Linked DNA regions of Homo sapiens: all the other regions are linked to region 2. The links are contacts of gene promoters, found by promoter capture Hi-C in blood cells and fetal thymus (Javierre and others, 2016). All regions are on one chromosome and are shown on one strand. Each heading gives the region's core, a stretch centred on a gene start or on the middle of the fragment in contact. The rest is flanking DNA. Distances are from core to core; before and after follow the strand shown.

Region 1 (4,552 bases), core at 1,900-4,399, 290 kb after region 2:
GTTTGAGACCAGCCTGGTCAACATGGTGAAACCCCGTCTCTACCACAAAATACAAAAATTAGCCAGGCATGGTGGTGCACACCCTGTAATCGCAGCTACTCAGGAGGCTGAGACAGGAGAATCGCTTGAACCCAGGAGGTGGAGGTTGCAGCGAGCCAAGATGGTGCCACTGCACTCCAGCCTGGATGACAGAGCAAGACCCTATCTCAAAAAAAAAAAAAAAAAAAAGGAAACAGGGCCAAGAGGTGTAATTTTGCTGCATGTTGGGGATGGGGTGGCTTCATGGTGTGGGGTACACACCATTAGCCTCTCCCTCAAGGTCTTGCTATCGCCCTTTGCATCCATATTTTCCCTTCCCATCTTTTTCCTTGCCAACTTCTTCTTCTTTTTCTTTCTCTTTTCCATTCCTTTATTTGTATAATGTCTGAACTCAAATTGGATTATATAGCAAATGCCTAGATTTTAATGCATGCCCTTCCATCCTTTTTCTAGTCTGTGCCTTCTTAATTGTCCATAATAGTATGCTGCAGTGCAAGTATTATTATTGTATTTGTGAAATTTTATGTTCCCTGTTGTATATAATGATGGGTGAATTAAATATTTGATTTTCTTTCTTCTCTCAAAGAGAAAACATAAGTAAATAAAAGCATCTTTTACTTATCCAGGCCTTTGATTTTTTTTCTCATTATGAATCGGTAGTCCTTGGTTACCAAAAGAGGTAAGATTGGAGGGAGTTCCCACTCTTGTCTCTCAGTAGAGACAGCCTGTCCTTGAACCTTTCTGTTTGCTGTTCAGGTAGACGGGGTCAGCTACCTCCTTCAGGAGATCTATGGAATTGAAAACAAGTACAACACACAAGATTCTAAGGTAAGTTTTACCCAAAATTCTGAATGTACTCTTTCCAGGAGGCCAAGTGAGAAATCGTAAGCCAGCGTCCAGAAATTTAGCGTGCCAAACTCTGAAATCAGTTAGGTCTTAGAAGGGTATTTTCTTGTTCCTCATTTCAGATCATTACGCTTTTACCACTTTGGAAATGAGAAAAGTAGGCTGGTTTGGCTTTGTTCTGCCACAGAGCTCTGTCCAACTCGGTTTCCACCAGGGCCCTTTCTTTGCTCCTTTTCCTTTATCTGTGTGATCCCCTAAGTCCCTTCAGCTGAGATTTGAGAGGCCCAGCTCTGGGCCTTATAGGAGGAGCTCGAGTGGTTAGTCTCGTCCTCTCAATTTTAGATAAACACTTCCCAGAAGAAGTGAAGCTAAGTGTGTGGACGCACTGGGAAAATGACAAAGTCCAATGTCAATGCAGATTTTGTTCGTAATTATTACTTATCTTAGCTCTTCAGCCACGCTGCCTTGTCAGTAAAGTATGGGACAGGAAGGGCTTTGTGCCATTGGCTACATTTCTTTCTCCTTGGCCAGGTGGCTGAAGACGAAGTGAGTGATAACAGTGCCGAGTGTGTGGTGTGTCTCTCGGATGTCCGGGACACCTTGATTCTGCCCTGTCGCCACCTCTGCCTCTGTAACACCTGTGCAGACACGCTGCGCTACCAGGCCAACAACTGCCCCATCTGCCGACTGCGTAAGCCCCAGAGCGGCAGGGGGACTGGTGGGTGGGAGAGGGGACAAGAGGACATTTACAAAACACTGAAGCATGTGCTGCTGCTGGATCTGACAAACGGATGCGCGCTGGGAGGGATCATGGTTTCTGTCTGGGCTCTTGTTCATTCTTAATCCTGTATCAGGATGTCCTGATTGCCTGTTTTCTCCTTCACAGCCTTCCGGGCACTGCTTCAGATCCGAGCCATGAGGAAAAAATTGGGCCCCTTGTCCCCAACCAGCTTTAACCCCATCATCTCATCCCAGACATCTGACTCTGAAGAGCATCCAGTAAGTTGGGCTCGGAACCACGGCCCCTCTGAAGCAAATGCCTCATTGGCTTTTTTAAACTTTTCATGCTTCTCTACGTGGCATTGCAGCAAGGAATTAGACCAGGGCATGCTGCAGTATTTAGCAAGCCGGCTGAGAGCATGCGTTAAAACCAACTTATTACTGTGGAAAATTGAATACTGAAAACCTCCCTTTTCCTCCTTGGGAACTTGGTGTCCAGTTAATGTTTACCATTCCTAGAGCCATCTGCTTGCAGTTTCACTCCAGTGAGGTTCAACTTGAACTCCCCCAGGCAGAAACAATGGGACGATTATTTTGGATTTAAATACAATTTATTATCTTTATTTGAATCCTCGAAGAAAGTAACTGTTTTTCTTTATCCTGTTTTGTGGCCTCAGTGCCTGAGATAAAGTAACTGACTTCAGTTTCCTAGTGTAAGTGCTGATATTAGGGTGAAACCTCAAAGCTTTGCAGTTAGAGAGCAGCAGATACTGTCTTTCTTTAGACTAACGCACTGCTGGGAGAGATTATTATTTAGTGAATGGTATTGGGATAATTAGTTAGCTATTTCAGGAGGAAAAATTAGTTTAGCACTTTACTCCTTACCAAATAAATTCCAGCTGGAGTAACTAGTTAACTATATTAAGAGCATCAAACCAAACAAACATTACAGCAAACCAAGCAAAACATTCAAAATCTAGAATAAATTATAGATGATTATTTAGTTGACTTTGGATTGGAAAGGATTCTCTAAGCTTGAAAGCAAGAACCATACATTTTACCACCTAAAAAGTTTAGCACTTCAGAGGTCTAAAAGGTAACCAAAATTAAAAGTTAGACAACAAATAGTGTTTTTTTAAAAACTATTTACAATGTGTGTATCAGAGGAAAAGCTAATGTCTTTGCCATAGTTCATATTGAATAAAACAGTAGATAAAAGGGCAAAGGGCATAAACAAAACACACTCAACATAGAATTTTTTAAAAAGTTCAACCACATTAAAAATCAATGATATGCAAATATGAGAATACCATTTTCCAACTTTCAAATTTTAAAAACTTTTCTTTTTAGCGATTCTCCCTGCTTTCGGGGAAGCAGTCAGAATAGGTCTTCTGTATTACTTATAGGAGTGTAACTAGAAAAGGCACTGAAAAAAAAAACAGCAGAAAACAGCAGTATATATCAAGGCCTTAAAAACATTTATACCTCATCATCTAAGAGCTAATAATTTAATAACAAGAACATAATTTGAAAAAAAGGCATTCAAGGATGTTCATCAAAACTTGTTTACAATAGGATGTGTTAGACACAACTAGATTCCCAGCACTAGGAGAATAGTTAGAAAACTTAGGGGATCTATGAGAAGGGGACATATATAAAGAGGCTTCAGAAACAAAGGAAAATATTTATGTTCTGGCCAGGCATGGTGGCTTACATCTGTAATCCTAGCACTTTGGGAGGCCATGGTGGGAGGATCAATTGAGACCAGGAGCTCAAGACCAGCCTGGGCAACATAGTGAGATCCCATCTCTATTTTTTTAAAGAGGAAAGTATAATAAAATAAGCAGAATATAAAATTGTTATTTACAGATTGATCAAAACTGTGTAAATAGTACACAGAAAAAAAATGGGAAGAAGAGACACCAGAATGCTAACAAAAGTAACTTTGGGTGATTTGATTACTGGTGATTTTTTTTCCTTACTTTTACTTTTATGTATTTTCCAAATTTCCATTATAATCAGAAAAAAAATAGAGATTATTAAGAAAAAGCTTACCAATAAGCAGGATCTACAGTGTGTGATTCTTTGATATTTTATCTCTGCCTCTAGTACAGTTGTTCTTACCAGACCCCCCCAAGAACAGATATAAAACATTTTTTTCAGTGTAGAGAAGTAGCATGATCACGTCATAAAACAAAAAGGACCTAATTAATTTTTCAACCTGTCTCTGATTCCCCTAGTCCTCAGAGAATATTCCACCAGGCTATGAAGTAGTATCTCTTCTGGAGGCCCTCAACGGGCCCCTCACCCCGTCCCCAGCAGTTCCTCCACTTCACGTGCTTGGAGATGGCCACCTCTCAGGAATGCTCCCTTCATATGGCAGTGATGGCCACCTGCCCCCCGTCAGGACGATCTCGCCTCTTGACCGCCTGTCTGACAGCAGCAGTCAGGGACTCAAACTCAAAAAGAGTCTCTCCAAGTGAGTAGCCAGTGCTCCACACTGTTGCCCCCGGAATCCTTGATGAAATGCTTCATCCCTCCTTGGTGCTGGCCCACATCCTGGGGACTTAGGGCAGAGTAACCCTCTGGGCTGTTCCCAGAGCTGCTTGCGTGAAGGTTATCCCATCCATTAAGAGATGAAAATAAGATGGTATGTAGGTACTTAAGAAAACTCTGATGAGACAAATCTCTTATGTATTCTTTTTTTCTTTCAAGGATAGGGGATGGGATATAGGGAAGAGGATGTTGAACACTGTGGATAGGGCCTTCTAGGCCCCTGGGAGCATTGCTTAGTCCGAAGACTGAAGGAACCTTGTGATCCGTATCTCTTAAACATCTAAATCCAGCTAGGCACAAATCATGACAAGGTTTCTGTGGCAGAGTAAAGGGGAGGGTATTTTACAGATGAAAATATTGAGACCCTGTAAATGGCAGTGGTTTTTCCCAA
Region 2 (4,882 bases), core at 47-2,546:
AGTGGCGCGATCTGGGCTCACTGCAACCTCAGCCTCCCAGGTTCAAGCGATTTGCCTGCCTCAGCCTCCTGAGTAGCTGGGACTACAGCCATGTGCCACCACGCCCAGCTATTTTTTTTTTTTTTCCGTATTTTTAGTAGAGATGGGGTTTCGCCATGTTGGCCAGGATGGTCTCAATCTCTTGACCTCGTGATCCGCCCACCTCAGCCTCCCAAAGTACTGGGATGACAGGTGTGAGCTGCCGCGCCCGGCCTACTTTTTATATTTTAAAATGACAATATGGAGCAGACCATAACAGTTCTGCCAGTCTGGAATTTAGTCTAGGCAGGGAGTTTGGAAATAGTACAACAATGGTTAAGCTTATCGAAGGAGCTAAATGCCAGGCACTGTTCTACTTCACTTAATCCTCCAATTGCCCAATGAGATGAGTATTGCTATTATCATCCCTATTTCACAGATGAGCAAATTAAGATGAAAATAAGTTAATCAGTGTGCCTATTTTTATAGATTAGTAAGTGGCAGTGCCAAAAATTGGAATCCGTGGTCCCCACTCTTAGCTACCTTACTATACTACCTCTTGCCATTCATTCTTGGCTTCAGGGAGCTTTGAATTTATCTGCATGGATTTGTAGCCAAACCACTGGGACCACTGATCCTTTTGTTACCTTTCTCTGGGCCTCCTTCACCAGCTTCTGGGTCAACTTCTGAGGGGTCATGACGTTCGAACTGCTTGGAATTCCTGAATACAGTGCATTATACATATGCTCTACACGTATCTATTATAGCCTTACAAGTTGGAGTTGTTTGTTATCTATTTAATGTGTATTTGTTTTGTCTCCCCAACTAGACTGGAAACACCTAGAGGACAGGGACAGTATCTTTCTCTTTCTGCAATGCTCCCAGTGCCTGGGGGCTAGGCTAGGACGCCAAGGGAGCTCATTAAAAGTTGTTGACAGTCTCTCCACCATCCTGTGCCCCACCCCGACCACTCCCCTCTTCCTCGGTGGCCACTCCACTTCCTCCTCCCGGGTCCCCGCCCCTTCTCGCTCCCTTTAGTTGAATCCTCACTGGTCTCGCCCCTTCTTAGTGGATTCCATCCTGCCCCCGCCCCCCGCGGCATCTTCAGCGTCCCCTAGCGACGAGGCGGTGGCTCCTAGCAACTGCATCCCGGCTCCCTGACGACGGCGCCACGCAGGGACACGTCAGCGCGCTATGGCCCCGCCCCCGGCGCCCGCTGGTCCCGCCTCCCCGCGCCTCGTTCGCCGCCGCTGTCGCCGCCGCCGCCCGAGACTCGCGCAGAGCAGTTATGGCGGATCCCGCAGCCCCCACGCCCGCAGCTCCCGCTCCAGCCCAGGCCCCGGCTCCAGCCCCGGAGGCAGTCCCGGCCCCAGCCGCAGCCCCCGTCCCGGCGCCGGCGCCCGCCTCGGACTCGGCCTCCGGGCCGTCCTCGGACTCCGGCCCAGAAGCCGGCTCGCAGCGCCTGCTGTTTTCTCACGACCTGGTGTCGGGCCGTTACCGTGGCTCCGTGCACTTCGGGCTGGTGCGCCTCATCCACGGCGAGGACTCGGACTCGGAGGGCGAGGAGGAGGGCCGCGGGAGCTCGGGGTGCTCCGAGGCCGGGGGCGCGGGCCACGAGGAGGGCCGGGCCAGCCCCCTGCGCCGCGGCTACGTGCGCGTCCAGTGGTACCCGGAGGGCGTCAAGCAGCATGTGAAGGAGACCAAGGTGCGGCGGGCGGGGGCTGGGCGGCGCGGGCGGCAGGGGGTCGGCGGCCGGGCCGAGGCCAGGGAAGGACGGCGTGCAGGGCCCTGCCCGGAGCGGTGCCACTGCAGTGGCCGACGCGGGAGGACAGCCCCAGTGGAGGGTACACTCCATGCAAAGTCATTGCAGCAGCTCTGGGCGCACACGCCAGCCAGGCACTGCTGGCCCGGGACCGGGCGGGCCCTGGGCTTCCCGACTTGAGGGGACTTCTAAGACATGTTATGCTGTGGTGTCGGCCTCGAGATTTAGAGACGTGGACCGACTCCCGTGGGGACTCAGGTTCTGGGGCGCGTTCGGCGTTACACCAGTGCGGCGTTTTGCTGACCCCCAAGGAGCTCGGTACTGCATTGTGCATCCAGAAATGAAGGCCGTGCCGGGTCCGTGCAGGGAGGGGTTGTGGGCATTCCAAAACAAAGATAGAGGTGAAAATCCCAGCCGAACCCAAGAAGTTCACTAGCTTACAGGCTGCATTATGGTGAAGCCACCCAGCCTCTTTTTGTTTTACCCTGCTGCCTCCTTTTAATTGCTGCAGGGAACTTTGTGAGTAAAATCATTAGCAATCAGAGCCCCGGTATGAATAGTACTTGGGGGGGAGGATTCTGACAGCTGCGACCGGGATTGATGACTCCTAAGTGCATATGGACTCCTTGAAAAAAATAATCCAGAACCCTGGGTAGAGGGGAGTCACCAATTTGGAAACCCGAAGGTTTTTTCTTGACCTGAAGCTGTTAAGCAGACATCTGACTCCCGTATGGTTTTTGGGGTGATGCTAGTGAGTATAGCAGTTTTACAAAACAAAGAGGCTTGTCATCATAAACCCGAAACCTTGAACCCGGGTTGGTTTGGTGGCTTGTTTTCCAGAATGTGAATTCCTATCAGTAATTGACACACACACACACACACACACACCCCCCTGTATCTCACACCCCTTCTTTCTCTCCTACTTCCCCTCCCCTTCAAGAAAACATTTCTAAGCAGGAATCAGGCCTACGCTGTTTTAGGTCCTTGGGAGGTTGAGAGGTCTGATTTCAGGGGAGGGCACTTTGGAAGTTGATCTGGGTTTCTCACACAGTGGGAGACAAAGACTACAGAGGAACGGGGTTTCATGTCAAACTACAAAGCGGGGTCTGTGACAACGGCTTGAGAAGGAAAAAGGCCCCACTCCAGAGAAGAGCACATGATCCATTTCCTAGAGGCAGAAGTGACTGCTGATACCAGCGGGGTCTTTTTGTTGGGGATGCACATACATCCACAGACACAAATCCACACACAGGACCCTGCTTCCCCTCAGAGAAATGTGAATCAGGCAACAGCTCTGAGACTTGGAAGGAAAATTATCAGTCCATTTACAAGAGTATTTGGAAAATATTACTTTTGTGCAACAGAATGCTTGTTAAAAATTACCCAGTATTGTGTCAGTAAAAGAGGGTTATTGCTGTATACTGTGTGACACCAGATGATTGCTGGTGTCTTTCTGTGAGTTTTTAAGAATGTTTTTCACCACCCATCTATTTGAGAGATTCGTGATTTTTGGAACGCAACTCATTTGACTGCAGCATCCTCTGTGTTGTGGCCTCCTGCCCTAGGACTCAGGGAGGTAGGCCCAGCTCACTACTGGGAGCCGCTATGTTTATCAGTTGTTGTTCCCGTCCGTCTTGACTTTGGTGGTTAACTTTGTTTGCAGTTATGCTCCGTTTGCCTCCTGCACTATGTGTAATTATACAGAGTTTGACTTGAAATACCTATTTTGGAGTTAAATCGAAAACAACGGCCGGGTGTGGTAGCTCATGCCTGTAATCCCAGCACTTGGGAGGCCGAGGCGGGCGGATCACCTGAGGTCAGGAGTTCGAGACCAGCCTGACCAACATGGAGAAACCCTGTCTCTACTAAAAATACAAAATTAGCTGGGCTTGGTGGCGCATGCCTGTAACCTGAGCTACTCGGGAGGCTGAGGCGGGAGAATTGCTTGAACCAGGGAGGCGGAGGTTGCGGTGAGCTGAGATGGCACCATTGCACTCCAACCTGGGCAGCAAGAGTTAAACTCTGTCTCAAAAGAAAAGAAAAAAAAAACAACAACTTTGAGGCACCACTTTGGATAGATTTTGCAGCTGGCCTCCTGTGACTTGCTTTGAATTTGTTGAAATCCGTTTTGTGGCTCGGTGGTGGTATTTTGTCATTGTAGCATCTGGGTTTAGCAAAAGCCAAGGGACGCAGAAATTCCAAGGAAGTGGTGGAATGGGATGCCCATTTATGGGTGGCAAGATATAGTTCTTTTAGGATTTAGAATAGGTTTGTTTTGGAGGGTGGAGTTTATACCTGATAGGTAGCTCTGTTACCATGAGCTATAGATACAGGTGACTGATTAGCTGAATGTCTCCTGGTCTGTTACTGACCACCAAGCAGGGTGGTAGGGTGGGTCCTGGGACCTTGCAGAACTGTGGCTTAGGATGATTTTTCTTCTCACCTCCTGCTCCTTATGAATTCCATCAAGGTGATAGTATGCCGTAAAGGAAAGACCATTAGACCAAGATTGACTAATCTAGTTATGAGATTTGAGAACCCAATTATTGACAAAATAATGTAGTGGCAGATTTTTTTTTTTTTTTGAGTTACTGGTTTGTTTATTATTTTTGGGATGGGGTCTCACTGTTACTCAGGTGTCCTTGAATTCCTGGTCTCACACAATCCTCCTGCCTCAGCCTCCCAGGTAGCTGGGACTACAGTAGTGATGGTTTTGAGAAACTTATTTTTTATTTATTTATGTTTTTGAGACGGAGTTTTGCTCTTGTTGCCCAGGCTGGAGTGCAATGGCGCCAGCTCGGCTCACCGCAACCTCTGCCTCCCGGGTTCAAGCGATTCTCCTACCTCAGCCTCCCGAGTAGCTGGGATTACAGGCATACGCCATCACGCCCGGCTAATTTTTTGTATTTTTAGTGGAGACGGGGTTTCTCCGTGGTGGCCAGGCTGTTCTTGAACTCCTGACCTCAGGTGATCCGCCCGCCTCGGCCTCCCAAAGTGCTGGGATTACAGGCAGGAGCCACCGCACCCGCCCGAAACTTATTTTTTTTAATAAGCTGCTACCTATTGAAAATTTTTGTGTGTGAGTTTCTTTTTTAAACAGAG
Region 3 (4,674 bases), core at 2-2,501, 400 kb after region 2:
TGTATTGGGTAAGTTACAAGGAAGATTTTTTTTTTCACACTGGAGACTAAGAAAAGAGAAGAAATAGATTCTTAAGAGAACTTTTAAGAAAAGCTTTCTTAAGAGAAGAAAAAGGGTTTTTCTTTAAGCCCCTGTTCCCCCAACCATCTCTTAAAGGGGTGGGCAGCACTGGGTTTTCGTTTGAGCTTTCTTAGAGGTCAGTTGAATATTAACACATTTTTTCAGATTGAGTGTTAATTTCTATGGGAAGTCAAATACCATAATGGAATGTTGATGTTTTAATTTCACAGTGGGTCTGCCAGTCACACAGGTTCATCCCCTTTCTGCCTTTTGTCCATTTCTATCTGCTCGGTCAGATTCTTTGGGACGATAATGTGGCTTGGCAGGTATTCAGTTAGTGAATCACTTTCTCACTTACCCTAGCTGTGTAGCAGACAGGTGACACCCAGTACTTGTGCAAAGACTGTCGTCTCATGCGTGTCAACCTTGTATGTCCTAAAAATTGTTCTCAGAGTAGTCATGTGGAATATCTGAGTGCAGCACGTCTGTGGCGAAAAGAACTTAGTGTGATATTTAGGAGAACTGTCTTTTTGGTGGGTATTGATTAGTCTTTTTTATTATTTCCTTGTACCTAAAAGAAACAATCTTTGAGTTGGGTCACATTTGTAAAAGGTAATTGTGTTGGCATACAGTAGAGCTTGACAAGTTTGTTCTGGAAGGAAAAGATAAGGAAAGTTCTGGTGTGCTGTGCTTCAGTGTAGAGTGTCCCAAGTCCAGTCTGTAAGGCCCCTCAAGGGGTGCCAGGTCCTGAGCAGAGGGTGAAGCGCTGCAGGGAAGTAGCAGGAAGCTGTGCTGGGAAGAGACGTAAAGCCTTTGCTAAGTCTCAGATCAGTTATGCAGACAGCTTTTTCAGCATGTTTGCTTTTAAAAATAGAACTCCCCTTTCCATATGAATAATGAATGACTAAGGCTATGAGAAACCATTATATGGTAGAGAACAGTAACAATTAAAATGATATCTGGTGTGGCGTGCGTGAGTGAGTGTGTGGTTGGGGGACTCCATGTGCGATTTTGCTCCTCTCCCATTAGGTGACTATGGTTTGCTCAAAGGAAAGTCTCTTACTTTGATCTGCCCTTGTTTAGGCTGAAAGCGAAGAAACTAAGGAGCGCCTGTTTGAATCAATGCTCAGCGAGTGTCGGGACGCCATCCAGGTGGTTCGGGAGGAGCTCAAGCCAGATCAGGTAGGACCCTCAGCCGAGCCCTGGTTCTTGCTCTGGGCGGGTCCAGGTCAGCCTGTGTCCCCTTCTCAGGTGGACCCCAGTGCTCTGAGTGCACTGCTCGCTTGGCCACTGTTTCGTTTTTGTTTTTTTGAGGTGAGGTCGTAAGGGAGCAAACAAGGGCCTCTGGGCTCCATCACATTGAGAAATTAATTTCTCCCTCCCCTGTTCCTCCTAATGGTTTCCTATATGGCCTGTGAAGCCTGTGGCCTCCAATTCTGTCTCCAGGTGGACTTCTCCAGTGCCTCCCTTTTCTGAAAACACTATCCCTGTGGTTGATTCAGGCATCTAGGCTGAAAACCTCAGATCTATTTGTCTCTTTTGTCCCTGTCACCAAACCCACCTTCTTCTCCCTTTGCAGGGCCTCTTGCCTATTGTTGCTTCACCTGTTTCTATTAGCCTTTTCTCGTGTGCCTAGGCAACCGCAAAGGTCTCCTAATTGCTTCTTCTGGCTTGGTCTCGGTTCCCTTCTCCAGGCCTTTCTTTCGCAAAGTACAAATGGAATCTTTCTAAATCTAGTTTCCCTGTCTAATTTTAAAAAGCCCAGTGATTTCCTCTAGGGATTGAGCAATGGCCTCCAAACTTTTATGCTGATAAACCCCATAGGCAGCATTGAGCCTGCACCACTGATGCATTTATTTATGAATTATATAGCTTATTATTTGACTAATTTGTCATATATAAACTGCATTAAAATAAGGGCTTTTTTGAATGAGATAAATAGAAATAGAAATTCTAATTTTCGTTTCATACCCAGACTCCCTGGGTTTTATGCGCCCTACTTAGAGACCACTGGCCTCTCAGTTCAGACTTGAGCTGGTGTACAAGCCTTCCTTAGTCTGTTCCCAGCCTTGTACTTCACTGCATCCTTCTGAGTCCTCTGCCTCAAGCTGTTCCACTTACTGGCATCTCAGTAATGCCTTTCCCACCCCGTGTGTTACACTGTTCTCATTCCCCTCCCTCCGCACACTTGGGTAATCTTTCCTGCCCCTCTTCACCTGTCCAAACCCCATCTGTTTTTCAAGGTCCAGCTCATAGCTTACCATTTCTGAAAAGCATATGCCTGCACCATCCTAGCCCACAGAGATCTCTGCAGTTTCTAAATATCTGATACTTGCAGCTATAAGCTTTGATAGTTAATTAAGTATTACCTCTTCATAAAAACTTTATTGTGGTAAAAAACGTTAAACATAAAACCTTAACCATTTTTAAGTGTATGGTTCAGTGGTAATTAAATGCATTCATAACGTACAACCATCACCAACAGTCCATCTCCAGAACTCTCTGCATTTTGTAAAACTGAAACGCTGAACCCATTAAACAACAATAACTTCGTTGCCTAGCAACTATTTTTTTTTCAGCATCTGCCACAAAGCCTTGAGTATAAACTTTGTTTTGAATCACTGCTTTCTCTAAGGAGTCACCTGCTTCCTTGCCCCGTTAGGCTGCCTTTATGTATTGTGCTTCCCTTCATCGACTTAACAGAGGTGCCTACAGAGTCCCAGCCCCTGTCACTGTCATTCACCTTGAATGCATAGCAGTTGGGAGACACCTCACAGAATGTAAGGAATGTGATGCCGCAAAGGCGCATTCATTTCCTGTTGCTGCGATCATATTAACCACAAACTTGATGGTTTAAGATGATCCAAATGTATTATCTTACGCTTCTCGAGGTCAGAAATCTAGTGGGTTCACAGGGCTGTGTTCCTTTAGAAACCCTAGGGGAATCCTTTTCCAGTATTCCCAAGAATGCATCTCCTGGCTTCTAGCGGCTGCCTGTAGTCCTTGGCTTGTGGCTCTCCGTTTGTGCTTCAAAGCGATCAGCTCCTCTCCCCTCTGCTTCCGTTCCTTCATCTTCTGCATCTCTGACCCATCTGCCTCCCTCTTCTCAGGACCCTGGGATGACATTGGACCCACCCAGATAATTCAGAGATCCCTAATTTAATCACATCTGTAGAGTCTCTTTTACCATATATGGTAACATCTTCCCAGATTGCACGGAGGCTAGCATATAGACAGCTCTGGCGTATGTTATTCGGCCAGCCACAAAAGGCACACTCTGACAGCACAAGGGGTGGAACTGGGATCTGTGGCACAGACCTTCACACAGAGCCGTGGACTGTGGAATGTCTGATTTTAATGCTTTGGGGTTAGGCACGGGGAGGAGTGGACAGGAAGTCTCATCTGGCCGTTACTCTCAGTTCTCTTATTTGAGGTCAATTTTTAGATGCCAGTGGCAACTTGAGTGCCACTGTCATTCTAGATTATGTCAAGTATAGATCTTTGATATTTGAGGACTCCTGTCTTACTAGAGTTTGTGTCTATGTTCAGGGCACTTTGGAGACCCCACCATTCCATGAGGTGGTCAGAGCGATGGAGAGCATCAGTTGCTTTACTTTTTACCTTTTTCACTTTCTGCAGAAACAGAGAGATTATATCCTTGAAGGAGAGCCAGGGAAGGTGTCTAATCTTCAATACTTGCATAGGTAAGGGTTATTTTAATTTTTTTACTTTTTAATATTATTAAAATATTTGAACAAAAGAGTATATGTAATATTTATGTATATTTACATTTATAATTTCTTTTCTTTGTTTTTTTTTTTGAGACAGGATCTAGCTCTGTCACTCAGGCTGGAGTGCAGTGATGTGATCTCAGCTCACTGCAGCCTCAATGGCCTGGGCTCAATCAATCCTCTAACCTCAGCCTCCCACTGAGTAGCTGGGACTACAGGCATGCACCACTACATCCAGCTAATTTTTGTATTTGTTTTGTAGAGATGGGATTTTGCCATGTTACCTGGGCTGGTCTCAAACTCCTGGACTCAAGCAATCTGCCCATCTCAGCCTCCCACAGTGCGGGGATTATAGGCGTGAACCACTGCACCTGGCTTACATTTATAATTTCTTAATGCATACAAATGCTAATGCATGTATGTCCATTTTATCAAATAAGTATATATGCTACATTTACATTTTATTTTAATATGCCTAATTTAAGATTTTTATATAGCTTAACTAGAACACAGCCAGGCATGGTGGCTCACGCCTGTAATCCCAATACTTTGGGAGGCTGAGGCAAATGGATTGCTTGAGCCCAAGAGTTTGAATTAGCTGGGTGTGATGGTGCACACCTGTGGTCTCAGATACTCCAGAGGCTCAGGTGGGAGGATCCCCTGAGCCCAGGGAGGTCAAGGCTGCGGTCAGCCATGATCATGGTCATGTCACTGCATTCCAGCCTGAGACAGCCCTGACTCAAGATTCTCAAAACAAAAACGAGAACACAACCAGTGTTTGAAGCTCCCTGCGGCCCTTGCCTCATTTCCTTCCACTCCTAGAGCTAACTGCAACCTTTGCCTCCCGGGCTCAGGTGATCCTCCCACCTCAGCCTCCTGAGTA

Evidence for each region. Contacts are between HindIII fragments. The CHiCAGO score rates a contact against its expected background, and 5 or more counts as called.
Region 1: a fragment that was not itself captured here is called in contact with the fragment with the promoter of UBE2O in region 2 in 1 of 17 cell types (M1 macrophages); the score reaches 5.2 in M1 macrophages.
Region 3: a fragment that was not itself captured here is called in contact with the fragment with the promoter of UBE2O in region 2 in 2 of 17 cell types (M1 macrophages and M2 macrophages); the score reaches 6.0 in M1 macrophages.

Annotation. Positions count from the first base shown.
Region 1 is chr17:76,158,867-76,163,418 of GRCh38, reverse strand. It overlaps RNF157 (ring finger protein 157), which reads left to right. Exons shown (of 19, transcript NM_052916.3): 9 at 796-867; 10 at 1,417-1,576; 11 at 1,772-1,884; 12 at 3,846-4,084. Among named protein-coding and RNA genes, the nearest start is that of FOXJ1, 20 kb to the right of the region's middle. The HindIII fragment of the contact is 1,016 bases long and covers 2,642-3,657 here.
Region 2 is chr17:76,449,566-76,454,447 of GRCh38, reverse strand. UBE2O (ubiquitin conjugating enzyme E2 O) reads left to right here and starts at 1,296. Exons shown (of 18, transcript NM_022066.4): 1 at 1,296-1,723. The coding sequence starts at 1,307. It also overlaps a transcript of AANAT not described here. RefSeq lists silencers at 1,122-1,290, 1,085-1,624, 1,745-1,944. The HindIII fragment of the contact is 7,923 bases long and covers 362-4,882 here.
Region 3 is chr17:76,046,996-76,051,669 of GRCh38, reverse strand. SRP68 (signal recognition particle 68) reads left to right here. Exons shown (of 16, transcript NM_014230.4): 9 at 1,144-1,242; 10 at 3,700-3,764. Among named protein-coding and RNA genes, the nearest start is that of EVPL, 22 kb to the right of the region's middle. RefSeq lists a silencer at 3,441-3,510. The HindIII fragment of the contact is 2,312 bases long and covers 96-2,407 here.